Linked DNA regions of Homo sapiens: all the other regions are linked to region 1. The links are contacts of gene promoters, found by promoter capture Hi-C in blood cells and fetal thymus (Javierre and others, 2016). All regions are on one chromosome and are shown on one strand. The core of a region is centred on a gene start or on the middle of the fragment in contact, and the rest is flanking DNA. Distances in the headings are between cores, read along the strand shown.

Evidence for each region. The method cuts DNA at HindIII sites, captures the fragments that hold promoters and counts their contacts. A CHiCAGO score of 5 or more calls a contact.
Region 2: a fragment that was not itself captured here is called in contact with the fragment with the promoter of DUSP26 in region 1 in 2 of 17 cell types (neutrophils and non-activated CD4 T cells); the score reaches 6.6 in neutrophils.
Region 3: a fragment that was not itself captured here is called in contact with the fragment with the promoter of DUSP26 in region 1 in 1 of 17 cell types (non-activated CD4 T cells); the score reaches 5.5 in non-activated CD4 T cells.
Region 4: a fragment that was not itself captured here is called in contact with the fragment with the promoter of DUSP26 in region 1 in 2 of 17 cell types (non-activated CD4 T cells and monocytes); the score reaches 6.3 in non-activated CD4 T cells.
Region 5: a fragment that was not itself captured here is called in contact with the fragment with the promoter of DUSP26 in region 1 in 1 of 17 cell types (monocytes); the score reaches 5.3 in monocytes.

Annotation. Positions count from the first base shown.
Region 1 is chr8:33,598,597-33,601,296 of GRCh38, forward strand. DUSP26 (dual specificity phosphatase 26) reads right to left here and starts at 1,427. Exons shown (of 4, transcript NM_024025.3): 1 at 1,069-1,427. The HindIII fragment of the contact is 17,028 bases long and covers 1-2,700 here.
Region 2 is chr8:33,403,617-33,406,316 of GRCh38, forward strand. All of the region lies in intron 3 of POFUT3 (protein O-fucosyltransferase 3), which reads right to left. Among named protein-coding and RNA genes, the nearest start is that of POFUT3, 68 kb to the right of the region's middle. The HindIII fragment of the contact is 1,008 bases long and covers 829-1,836 here.
Region 3 is chr8:33,381,742-33,384,441 of GRCh38, forward strand. The region is part of intron 4 of POFUT3 (protein O-fucosyltransferase 3); the gene reads right to left. Among named protein-coding and RNA genes, the nearest start is that of POFUT3, 90 kb to the right of the region's middle. The HindIII fragment of the contact is 2,478 bases long and covers 115-2,592 here.
Region 4 is chr8:33,444,600-33,447,299 of GRCh38, forward strand. All of the region lies in intron 3 of POFUT3 (protein O-fucosyltransferase 3), which reads right to left. Among named protein-coding and RNA genes, the nearest start is that of POFUT3, 27 kb to the right of the region's middle. The HindIII fragment of the contact is 3,773 bases long and covers 1-2,700 here.
Region 5 is chr8:33,464,364-33,467,063 of GRCh38, forward strand. All of the region lies in intron 1 of POFUT3 (protein O-fucosyltransferase 3), which reads right to left. Among named protein-coding and RNA genes, the nearest start is that of POFUT3, 7.4 kb to the right of the region's middle. The HindIII fragment of the contact is 8,691 bases long and covers 1-2,700 here.

The DNA of each region.
Region 1 (2,700 bases), core at 177-2,676:
TGTTGGAGTCAAGTGACCCTACAAAACACGAGGTCAATAACGAGGGGCTTAGCAGGTGTGTCTCAGATTACCTGTTGAGCTGCAGAGCTGGGAAGGACCAGCGTTTGAGGCTTGCCCTGGGACCTTCAGGCAGGGAGGCAACAATGGCAAGGCCCCTTCCCCCTCCCTCCCCATCCTCTCACACCTGTGGTCCTGCCTGTTTGAAAGCAGGAGGTCCTGGAGCCTGCAGAATCCCCTTCCACTCCCTTCCTGGCCTCCTGCCAGGGGGACTTCAACTCTATGACCAGCAGTGAGAGGCCATCTTTGTCCCTGCCCATGCTCTGTCCCCATCTCACACCCCTAGACAGGGCCCAGCTCTCCCTTGCTCCAGTGCCAAGAGAAACCAAGCACTTACAAGGCATTAGAAGCAGGGGTTTTAGGACCAGGATTGGTGAGGGAAGATTGGATGTTAGGGAGTTTAGGGAGAGAGAGTTTTCAATGGCTGGGTCCGGAAGGAGCACAGAAATATAGCACTACAGCCATCATCACCACCACCATCACCATCATCACTACCACCATCACCACCATCACTATCACCATCATCTTCTTCTACCTTTGCACCCAGGCCTAAAGACCCCATTACTGTATTGCAATACAACCTTTCCTCTTAGAGAGTCTGCTGTCTACGAGATGATGAATGGGATGGGGGAAGCGTGAAGGAGCCCAGGTCTAAGAAGGATCTCCGTGGGGCTGTTTTTCCCGGGGGATGCAGAAGCCCCTTTCTGTCCAGGGATACAGCCCTGGGCATTCTCCAATCCCATCCGTCGGCTCCAGGGGCCCTGGCCCGCCGCTCCCTCCCTCCGCCTGCGGTCGCCTTTGTAACAGGTCCATGGCTGTCGCCCCAGTCCTCGCCAGCCTGGCAGCCGGGCCCCGCGCGCGGAGGGAGGGCGCCCGGGAGAGAGAGGCTGGCTCGCTGGGCTCGGGTGCCCGCTTCCCGGTCCCCTCCCTCCCCCGTCGCCCCTAGCTGGGCGCCTCTCCCCAGCGTGGAGAGCCAGCTGAAAAGGCGAAGGCCCGCCGCAGCCCCTCTACCTCTTTGCAAGCGCTGCGCTGGGCCTCAGTCCGAAAGGCGGATCGCCGGCGCAGACAGCGCCACGGCCATGACGCTCCTGCTGCTGTCGCCGCCGCTGTTTCTGCCCAAGACAGGTTGACAGATTAGCAGCTATTTTTAAGCCATGACACACACGTCGAAGCAGGGTTCAAATCAGCGTGTGCGCTGGTGACATAAAGGGACTCGGTCTCACATTCGGTGGCCCGAGTCGCCAGGCAGCGTGGGCTCCCCAGCCAACCCCCCACGAGCCCGCGCGCCTTGCAGACCAGACACGGCCCCGCCGAGCCCCAGCAGCACCGCCTGGAATGCATGCGTGTGTTCTCAGAGCTGCACCAATTACAAAGCGTTTTGCCTAAAGATTACATTATAAGTCATCCCAGGCACTGTCTTAAACACACACACTCCTCCCAGACAGAATTAACTAATTACATAGACACGATTCTGTGCACTGGCTTGTACATGCCTCGGTCTCAAGAAACCGTGTCATAAAGAACAATGGTCCGAAGCCCCCATTAGCCTTCATTATATGCCATGTGCTTCATTTAGCTTAAGGCATTTTATACTCCCCACAAGTCTATGAGGGAGACATAATTACTATTGTCCTAATTTTAGGGAGGAGGCGACCTAGGCACAGAGAGGCTAGGTACTCTGCCCTGGTCACACAGCTCGTTACTGGCAGAGCTGAGCTTGTTCAAACAATGCAGCCTGGCTTTGCAGTTTATGTCCTTAACCACTCTCTAAACCAGTGCCTCCCACAAAATGGAGAAGGCACCATGGATTTCCTTCATTCAGGAAGCCATTTCCACCAGCTCAGCTCATAGTGAACTTCACTTTCCCCAGACTCTCAAAACATTCATCTTCATATTTCTTTCTTTCTTTTTTGAGATGCAGTCCCACTCTGTCGCCCAGGCTGGAGTGCAGTGGCGCAATCTTGGCTCATTGTAACCCGCCTCCCAGGTTCAAGCCATTCTCCTGCCTCAGCTTCCCAAGTAGCTGGGATTACAGGCGCCCGCCTCCATGCCTGGCTAATTTTTTGTATATATTTTTTCTTTGTTTGTTTGTTTTTTAGTACAGATGGGGTTTCACCATGTTGACCAGGCTGGTCTTGAACTCCTGACCTCAGGTGATCCACCCACCTTCTCTCAAAGTGCTCAGATTACAGGCATGAGCCACTGTGTCCGGCCATCTTCATATTAATTTCTCATGTGCTGCCTTCTAGTGACATATTCACTTGATCGGCATTTTTATTGTAAGCACCAAGATTGTAAGCACTTTGAAGGCAGGGACTGTGCTACCTTCCCCAGTGCCTACCTTATTGTGTGAGAGGGAAGTGGGGGAGATGATAAATGTTAGCAGATGATGCTGTTGAGAACTAGGCTGGCTTGAACTCTCGCTGTCTACTAGAAGAAAGGCAGAAAGTAGATTGGCTCAGATTGAAGCTGATGGTGTCAGCTATAGCTGAAACCAGGACTGACTCCATTCCCAGCAGTGGTGGCAGATCAGGTTTTGATCTCTGGGTTAGAGAAAGTACTGGCCAATGTGACCAATCCCCAGGTTCCATGACAGGCTGCCATCCAAGTTTAATGTACCGCCTAGCCTTTTTTTTTCTCTAG
Region 2 (2,700 bases), core at 83-2,582, 200 kb before region 1:
GAGTGTGAGGTGGGATGATGGCTTGAGCCCAAGAGTTCAAGGCTGCAGTGAGCAATGACTATACCACCGCATCCCAGCCTGCGTGGGAGAGTGAGAGCCTGTCTTTTAAAAAATTTTTTAAATAAAAAATAAATTTATAATGGGTTAATTTTATATTATTTATATCTAAAGTAAGACGAACTCTGTCCCAAAACACCCTATCCTGTAGAGACTGGGGTTCAAAGAAGGAACAGAATGGACCCCAAAATAAGAGGTGAAAATCCCCACGTACACTCCAGTCATGCCAAGGGCAGCCTGACAGGCAAGGCTTCTTGCTTCCTGTCTCAACTTATCCCTGTCCTGCAAAGCTGTGGCAGGACACATCTGCAGCTCAGCACAGCAGACAGGCACAGGAGCACAGGAACAAAAACACAACATGGGTAAGAAAATGAAGGTTCCAGGCCGGGCGCGGTAGCTCACACCTGTAATCCTAGCACTTTGGGAGGCCAAGGCAGGCAGATCACCCAAGGTCAGGAGTTTGAGACCAGTCTGGCCAACATGGCAAAACCCCGTCTTGACTAAAAATACAAAAATTACTCAGGTGTGGTGGTGCATGCCTGTAATCCCAGTTACTTGGGAGGCTGAGGCACAAGAATCACTTGAACCCGGGAAGCGGAGGCTGCAGTGAGCCAAGATCACACCACTGCACTCCAGCCTGGGTGACAGAGTAAGGCTCTGTCTCAAAAAAAAAAAAAAAGAAAAAGAAAAAGAAAATTCGGGTTCTCAGAGAGGAGTCTCATTATACAAAGTTTGGGAGTGTGGGATGTGCTTGGATAGGTGAGTTCACAAAGCTTTCAGCTGCTACGGGCTTCATACCACAACGTGGAAAGACTTCCCCACCATGTGGAGAAATGGCAGAGTAAAAGGACATCTTCAGTAACAAGTTGAACTGCTGAACAAAACAGGTCTGCCTGCCCCAGATTTCTGACTAATTTAATAAATAAATGCCTTTATTGCTAAGCCACTTTGGGTCAAGTTCTTGATGGATGCAGCCTAATGCATTTAAATGACAATGGCAGGTCTCATCACATTTGGAAAGTCTGCATACTGGTGTTAAAAAAAAAAAGAAAAGAAAAGAAAACTATTCCATTTAATAGCATCAAATATGAGAAAGTACCAAATGGGTACAATGTATGTTATTAAGGCGATGGAAAACCTAAAGCCCTGACTTGTATGTAACAAAACTACACTTGCGCCCCATAAATTTATACAAATAAAATTTAAAGTTTCATCACAACAACAACAAAAAAAGAAGCAGAGTTGTAGATGAGACCTTTCCTGCTCTTTTTTCTATACATGATAATTTGCTACTGCCAACAGGACTCTGGAAAGTGAATACTTTTGCAGGAAGAACTTTCCAAATTGCTCAAGTCTTCATGTTGCTCCCTATCCAGTGATCTCGTGGCTTTTTGTATGGATCTGAACTATAATATTGATCATACTCAACTGTAGTTATGTGTGCACCTGTTTAGCTCCCCACCAGACCAGAAGCCCTCCTATCATCCATGTCTCTTTCATCTTGGCCCACAAAATTCTCCTTGGCAGGAGAATCACTTGAACCCGGGAGGCAGAGGTTGCAGTGAGCCGAGATTGTGCCACTGCACTCCAGCCTGGACAACAGAGCAAGACTCCGTCTCAAAAAAAAAAGGAAAAATAGGTGAAGCAAATTGATCACAAAACCACTACATCGTCTTAAGAACTTTCTCCTGCCTCATTTACTCAGACAAGTATGGCAGTTTTAATTACTTACGATGGTAGACTAGTAAGTGGCACTACCACCTCATTAAAAAATGATGAAGCTTAGCAACACTTTGGCATTCAGTTATTCTTTACAAAAAAAAAAATAGTCGATGATTCAAGAAATTAGTGAGTTGTAAAAATGGGAATGAAATATTAAGGAAATACTAAAGAACTCAACTTTTAACCTGACCTTTGGTATGAAAGAGATCTTTTAGTTGCAGGTAATTTCTTGATTATTCCAAGCTGATCACATTTTAATTAGTGTTTATTATATAGAAACATCTTATCAGTCAGTCATGGGGAAACACTCAGATTCATTCTAACTCAGAGCTCGTGTGAAGTCTATTAAATTATAACTGCCAAATAAATCAACAAGCCAAGTGTCCTAAGCTTTTCTGAGAAGTTTTATACCAATCAAATGTATAAGTAAATAATAAATAAAATTTTGTTAAAAGCAGAGCAAAGTCCCAGTTTGTGATTTGAGCTTACAAAATTTAATTAACTATGTTTACTTTGTTTCCAATTTTTCCCATTAAAAAAGTTCAAACTTGGAGGGAAAACTGGTATAGCTTTTTCAGAGACCAAGTTAGTAGTACGTAGTAAATTTTTAATTTAATTCACCCATTAACACAGCAACTCAAATTTCTAGATATTAGATAGAGAAATAATCGCACATATGAGGAGAGACAGATAAATATGTTCATAGTAACACAACAAAAAACAGAAGTAGCCTTAAAAAACTATTGACAGCAGAATGGTTAAATAATTTTAGTTATAGCCATACTATAGAATCAACATAGCTTTAAAAATAATGAAGTCAATAGATATATTCTAACATGAAAAAAAAAATCTTCAAAATCCACTTAAATGGAAAAACAAATATATATCTATGGTATGATTCAGTTAAAAAAATACATAAAA
Region 3 (2,700 bases), core at 104-2,603, 220 kb before region 1:
TACTAACAGCTGGCTGCCAGTGATTAAGATGGCCTTTTGGAAGACTCTTGTAGAAGCTTTACCAAAAGCATCCAGATCTCTCATTTTAGAGAATTTTTCCTTCACAGTGCACAAAGCTTATTCCTTTAATAATGTCTAATCTAAACTGTAAGCCCTATGACAAGGGACCATGTCTTTTCTTGCTTACCATTATCTAGCACAATAATGCCCGAATCAGAGCGCACCTTCAATACAATTTTTTTCAACTAGTTTGTTTAATAAAGAAAATAGGCTGGGCATAGTGGCTAACACACGCAATCCTAGCACTTTGGGAGGCTGAGATGGGCACATTGCTTGAGCTAAGGACTTCGAGACCAGCCTGGGAAACATGGCAAAACTCCATCTGTACAAAAATTACAAAAATTTGCCAGGCATGGTGGCTGCGCCTACAGTCCCAGCTACTCGGGAGTCTGAGGTGGGAGGACCACTCAAGCCTCGGAGCTGGAGGTTGCAGTGAGCCGAGATCACACCACTGTACTCCAGCCTGGGTGATAGAGACCCTGTCTCAATCAATCAATCAATCAAATGGAGATTTCCAAATAAAAATGGTTGACTAGACACACACTTTTAATTTCATTCCCTCCTGAAATCCCATAAAATGACAGCAAGGTGGTTTTTTTTTTTATGGCATAGATTCCTGAAGAAAAACAAAATGATAAGGAAAACAAAAAATTTCGGAAGTTGCAAAGTTAACAGATGGGTGGCAAATGACTTAGTTGATGTGAGAAAGCTGAGTTCTAAGAAGCAGCGGGAAAGCAGAAAAGCAACTCAACGTTCACTGCAGCTTGCACAAGATGCTGCAGAATTTGGTGGCGCACAGAACTCTGGCAGTGGGTGTAAAGAAGGGGCTGAAAGGGAAGTGGTTGCCAGTTTTGTAGGAGGCAACTGAAGACCCAAATCATCACTGTGCACAAGCAAGAAACTGACGTTCTCCTACCCCAGCAGCAGCTGAGTATTGTCCAAAGAAACTTAACAGTAGATCATTAGACTAGGGGAGAGCAGGCATGAACGAGGGTAAGAGTACCGCCCTCTAGCAGATTCCTGAACTTCTCAACTTCATCTATCCCTTGCCCCACCTGCACAGGGCTCTGACCAACAGTACACCTCACCTCCTTCCATGTGACTTCCTGCTCTAGAATTTAACTGTTGGAGTCACTGTGGAACTCTTCTCAGCACCCATATCACACACGTGCAACCCAAAAGGTAGAGCAAGTTAGGACCAGTGGGACAAATTTTGGACTACGGAGAAAGCAGGGCCCATGGATCAATTTTCTCCCCTTCCTTACCTGGAAGGAATGATTCCGAGTGCAGTATGTGCTTCTCAGGGGCAGGGTCCTGAGGATGAACCAATCACTCCCACTTAACACTCAGCTCAGTAACATCATCGCATTGCCCTCCTTCCTTCCCTGGTTCACTCCCCTACTCCTCCCTCCAACCCTCTAGGACTGCACTCCCTAACAGAATCACAGCACAGATGCCTCTGTTTCCATTTCTGTTTTCTGTGGAAGCCAGGTTAAGATCGTTGGTACCAGGAGTGGCGCTAAAGAGCATTATTCACCTGATGGCAATAAAAGCCCCATTGCTGGTGGTAAATCCCCATTAAAATTAATATCACCTGCTTTATCACCAGCACTCAACACCTAAGTGAGAAACAGAGGCCCTACTCTGAGAAGAAATAGCTTATATACCAAGAGAAGCAGCAAAGGCTAGGGTGTACTGTCAAGAACTGGGTAAGTGGCCAGGCACGGTGGCTCATACCTGTAATCTCAGCACTTTGGGAGGCTGAGGTTGGAGGATCACTTGAAGTCAGGAGTTCAAGACCAGCCTGGCCAACATGTTGAAACCCCGTCTCTACTAAATATACAAAAATTAGCTGGGCGTGGTGGTGCACACCTGTAATCCCAGCTACTCAGGAGGCTGAGGCAGGCGAATTGCTTGAATCCAAGAGGCAGAGGTTGCAGTGAGCCGAAATTGCACCACTGCACTCCAGCCTGGGTGACAGAGTGAGACTGTCTCAAAAAACAACTGCCCCCTCAGACAGGATAGTAAGTCTGAAGCAACACCATCATCTTGGAAAAACTGTAGAGATCAATGCCCCATAAGACCAAGGAGTTTTCCCCATCATAATCCCCACCACCACCATTTAATTCACCGTTCTGACCCCTGAAAAAAAAAAAAACAGATAAATCATGGTAGATGGTAGGGGACTACCAGGAACTTAACCTGACAGTAGTTCCAACTGCAGCTGCCTTGCTGAAACTGGTATCTACACAGGATCAACATGGCTCCAATCAGTATCTGATATTGATGCACACCAATAAGCAGCCACTGAGAGAAAGCTCACAACAAGCAGGTAGGTATTATGAGTTATTGGATTTCAGCCAGCCTGTCCCTTTGTTACCCCAATACTGGTTCCACTGACCCATGAACAGGACATTGTAGGAATGATGGAGGCTATGCATGAACAGAAGAGCTTTGGTTCTCACTCACAGGCAGAATTCATCACTGCCACTGTTGAAGACCTGATCTACCAGCAACAATGATCAATGCTAAAGCTTCTGATAAGGCACAATTCCTTGAGGAGAATATCTAGTCTCTAGTCTCCCAGTGACAGGCTAAAATCCTTTTACTCGAGAAGGAATAGCAATTAGTCCTTGCTGA
Region 4 (2,700 bases), core at 1-2,500, 150 kb before region 1:
CTGAGGTCAGGAGTTTGAGACCAGCCTGGCCAACATGGGGAAACACCGTCTTTACTAAAAATACAAAAATTAGCCAGGTGTGGTGGCGTGTGCCTGTAATCCCAGCTACTCAGGAAGTTGAGGAAGGAGAATCACTTGAACCCAGGAGGCAGAGGTTGTAGTGAGCTGAGATCACGCCACTGCATTCCAGCCTGGATGACAGAGTGAGCCTCCATCCCAAAAAATAATAATAATTACTATTATTTATTTAAATAAAAATGGATGTCTATTTTAAACAAGGTATCTTATTGGAGCAGATATATATAAAATCTATTGTTCAGTTATGACCTTCATCTTTTTTTTTTTTTTTTTTGAGATAGGTTCTCACTCTGTTGCCCAGGCTGGGGTGCAATAGTGCAATCTCGACTCACTGCAACCTCCACCTCCCAGGCTTAAGCAATCCTCCCACTGCAGCCTCCAGAGTAGCTGGGACTACAGGCACGCACCACCATGCCCAGCTAATTTTTGTATTTTCTGTAGAGCCCGGGTTTTGCCATACTGTCCAGGCTGGTCTCAAACTCCTGAGCTCAAGCAATCTGCCTGCCTTGGCCTCCCAAAGGGCTGGGACTACAGGTGTGAGCCATTGCGCCTAGCCATGACCTTCATTTTTATGTCCAACTTTATTACTGCCAAACACTCTAATTAAGCCCATTTCTTTGCCACTTCCCAAAAAAGTCTTAAATCTGGCACACTATAAATGACAATTACCTACTATCTACATTCAATACACAGTTTCCAAAATAAAGCTAACCTCTGGAGAAAAAAACTAGTAAGAATCAACATGAAATGGATGAGATCAGCAGAAATCTCTACTCCTGAGAATGGGTCATAGATATGTCACTCATGAAGCCTTAGGAGACACCCAGTACAAGATGACCAGGGGTGGCGGTATAAGGAAATCTTTCAAGGTTGCTATCCCATCAATGGTGATATAATCATGTTGGACTGTACTTGTTCCTTTTCTGTGTTTCTCCAACACAGAAGAGGCCTGGCAAATGGTGACCCTCCAAAGAGCCATTCTAGAACTGAATGTTGAGATGGAACTAAAAGGACAGATATCAAGATTCCAAAGTAACCATGAGGACATAGAGACCAGAGACCTCTGCAGAAAGAAGCTGGCTGTGGTCTGCAAAATGCCAGGTGCTGGGAAGCTGTCCCATATGACTACCCACAGCAGAGATGCAGCTTCCTAGGAAAAGAAACTATAAAAGCAACAAGTCCAGCAAGGAAATTTCAAATGCCAGAAACCACCTCAGAATAAAAAAAAGTTCACTTGCATCACCTACCAGACCCACCCAAAGACACCAGCTCCAACCACCTGCCAGGTTCAGAGGACATAAAGCCACCCAGCCAATTAAGAAATGTCCTGTGCCTTCATTCTCCTTCCTGTCCTCACTGCAACTCTGACAGGCTCCAGAAAGCAGCTGGAGAGGGAGGGAGAAGAGGAACCAGGAAAGGGTATAGAGCAGAAAGACCATGGCAGCCTTCCAGTGGGGAAGGGGTCTGAGCTGGGGAATGCAAAAAGATACAACTGGTGGCCAGGTGCGGTAGCTCATGCCTGTAATCCCAGCACTTTGGGAGGCCGAGGTGGGTGGATGACTTGAGGTCAGGAATTCGAGACCAGCCTGGCCAGCATGGTGAAATGCCGTCTCTACTCAAAATACAAAAATTAGCCAGGTGTGGTGGCGCACACCTGTAGTCCCAGCTACTCAGGAGGCTGAGGCACGAGAATCTCTCGAACACAGGAGGCAGCAGTTGCAATGAGTCGATATCACACCACTGCACTCCAGCCTGGGTGACAAGGCAAGATCCTATTACAAAAAAAAAAAAAAAATACTTGGACAGTGTCCTTTGGCGCCTGGCACAGAGTAGGTACCAATTAATGACAGTGATCATTATTACTGCTCCTTTGTTAGGGACAAAGGAAGCTAATGAGGCTTTCTCATTTCTTGGATGGTCCATTGCTCAAGTGTTTACTGTAATTCTAAGCTCACTAAGCAACCTCATGATTCTAATGCCATTCTCTGTCTAACCTGATCATCAGGACTAGGTACCCTGAGCAATAAACATCAGTACTCCTGTTCCCATGCAAAGACACCAACAAGTTGGTTTTTTATTATAAGCATGAATCTCCTATGTAGGTCAATGCCATTCGGTTCATTAAAGTTTTACTGATTCTTTGTGAACTGAAAAAACTGACTAGATATTGAAGAATGAGGACTGCAGCAGAGGTCTGACCCTTGAGAGGCCCTGCCTGAACAGTCAGGCTCCCTCCTGGGTGTGCCTCTCTTTTTAATTACACGTGATCACATGAAGGCACTGAGAAATCCCGAAGCATCCTCTGAAACAAAGGAAGCATCGACTAGGTCTGCTCTCAGTTTTTCTTAATGTATTTCATTACAAGCCTCTGGGAATTCGTCATCCATAGATGGTGTATGGAGAGATACTTCATCGCTCGGGAGACCTTTTCAACCAGAACACCTGCTCTCTACCACATCGGGTCATGGAGGACTACAACAGTGATTCCAGGCCGGGCGCGGTGGCTCAAGCCTGTTAATCCCAGCACTTTGGGAGGCCGAGGTGGGAGGATCACGAGGTCAGGAGATCGAGACCATCCTGGCTAACACACTGAAAACCCGTCTCTACTAAAAATACAAAAAA
Region 5 (2,700 bases), core at 159-2,658, 130 kb before region 1:
CTCATTCAATCCTCCCAACAACTCCACTCTCATTTTCAAATATAAGAAAACCGAATCTGAATGAAGTAAAGTAACTTGACCAAGACTCTAACTTTGACGAGTATTACGATCTGAAGTGCACACATTCCTTTATATTTTTTAGCATTAATACTATAAAATTCCTTGACTGCACACAGTGGCTCATGCAGGTAATCCCAACAGCTTGGGAGGCCAAGGTGGAAGGACCCACCTAGGCAACACAGTAAGACCCCATCTCTACAAAAAATAAATTAGCCAGGCATGGCGGTGAGTGTCTGTAGTCCTAGTCCTGGGAGGCTGAGGCAGGAGGATTGCTTCAGCCCAGGAGATTGAGGCTGCAGTGAGCCGTGATTGTGCCACTGCACTTAGCTTGGGTGACAGAGCCAGGCCTGGTCTCAAAAAATAAAAAATAATTTTAAAAAAAGAAATACTATAAAATTACCACCAGACAATACCAACACTCACAGGTTACCTGCCTAAACCACAGAAAACATATGTAGTACAGTTGTCAGCTAGTATATCAGAGAAAAAAGGAATACAAATCTATAAGAACCTGTAAAGTACCTTTGCTCCTACTTAGTAGATGCTTGTAGCTATTAACCACACACAACATGGAGCTAGCACTTTGGGTCCCAATCCTGGTTCTTTTACTTAATATAAATTTAGACAAGTTACTGAATCTTTCTAAGCCTCAGCTTCTTCATAGTAAATAATAAATGTTAACTATCACTATTTCTTTCCCTTGCATAACAGAAAGATTACCAAATTTTCATTTAATGTGCAGAAGCAATTTATTATAGTTATCATTAACGTAACCCAGATTATGTAGTAAAATAATATCACCTACTAAAATGGGAATAAAACTATACTGTTTTCAAAAATGTTTAGATATATCACTCTACTCAACCTTATTTATAACCACTTTGAAAAGTAGGCAAGGTAGGTATTATTATTCCCAGTTCCCAAGGAAGCTGAGCCTTCTCAAGTTTAAGTGATTTGCCCAAGATCATATATATATATATATACACACATACATACATATATATATAGAGAGAGAGAGAGAGAGAGTTGTTGCTGTTGTTGCTTTTGTTGTTGTTTTCAGACAGGGTCTCGCTCTGTTGCCCAGGCTGGAGTGCAGTGGCGCAATCTCGGCTCACTGCAACCTCCGCCTCCTGAATTCAAGCGATTCTCCTGCCTCATCCTCCCGGGTAGCTGGGACTACAGGCGCGTGCCACCACACCCAGCTAATTTTTCTATTTGTAGTAGAGACAGGGTTTCACCATGTTGGCCAGGCTGGTCTCAAACTCCTGAATTATCTTGAACACCTCAAATGATCCACCTGCCTCGGCCTCCCAAAGTGCTAGGATTACAGGTATGAGCCACTGCACCCGGCCACAGGATCATATTTTTTAAAGACAGAAGTGAGTCTAGATATCAGCTCACTCAACTCAAAGATGTGTGGAAAGCAGATAAATGAAGGAACATAGTGACAGCTTGTGAAAAGTACAGAAATAATCAGTAATAAAGGAAAACAAAAGATACAATTTGAGGACAGAGTTTGGGATATTTTTATAGCTACTGCATAGCTCAGGTCTATCATAGGAGCTTTTTGGGACCTTCGCATAGCTTTATGAACTATGACAGAAGAATTTTAAGATTATGAATTCCCTTATATTTAAAGAATCTCAACCTAGGCTATCTTCCCAAAGCCAGAAGTGTAGTAGGTCTCAGGGAACAACGTATGGTTAAGTAACTACCACTAAAGAACAGAGCCAGCCAGGTGCGGTGGTTCTGGGAGACTGAGGCAGGAAGATCCCTTGAGCCCAGGGGTTCAAGACTAGCCTGGGCAACAAAACAAGACTCCGTCTCTACAAAAAAAATTTTTTTTAATTTAAAAATTAGCTGGGCATGGTGGTGCATGTCTGTGGTCCCAGCTACCTGGAAGGCTAAAGCAGGAGAATCACCTGAGCCCAGGAGTTCAAGGCTGCACTGAGCCATGATTATGCCACTGTACTCCAGCCTGGGTAGCAGAGTGAGACACTGTCTCAAAAAAGAAAACAAAAGAAGGAAAGGAAAGAGAAAGGAGAAGGGAAGGGAAAATGGAAGGAGAGAGAAAAGAAGGGCAGGGCAGGGAAGGGGAAAGAAGGGCAGGGCAGGGCAGGGCCCAGCCAGGGTAGATAGTAGTATTGTGACTTAGAGCATACAACCATTATCCAGGCCTCAGGGTACATTTATAACAGTAACAGTCAATCTAATACTGTATATGGTATTAGTTACCCAGGAGCCTGACATCAAGTCAGCAGTCCTCCAACTGGTGGGACAGGCAGACTTGCAGAGAGCACTATGAAGGACAGCAGGCTCCAATTCAATAGAATAGACCAAAAGAGAACAGTAAGGGAGAAAGGGACACTGGCAGCCATGTCAATCAAGACTGGTGATTAGGCCGGGCATAGTGGCTCACACCTGTAATCTCAGTACTTTGAGAGGCCAAGGCGGGTGGATCACCTGAGGTCAGGAGTTCGAGACCAGCCCGACCAATATGGTGAAGCCCTGTCTCTACTAAAAATACAAAAATTAGCCGGGTGTGGTGGCAGACTCCTGTAATCCCAGCTACTTGGGAGGCTGAGGCAGGAAGGATTGCTTGAACCCAGGAGGCAGAGGTTGCAGTGACCTGAGATCGTA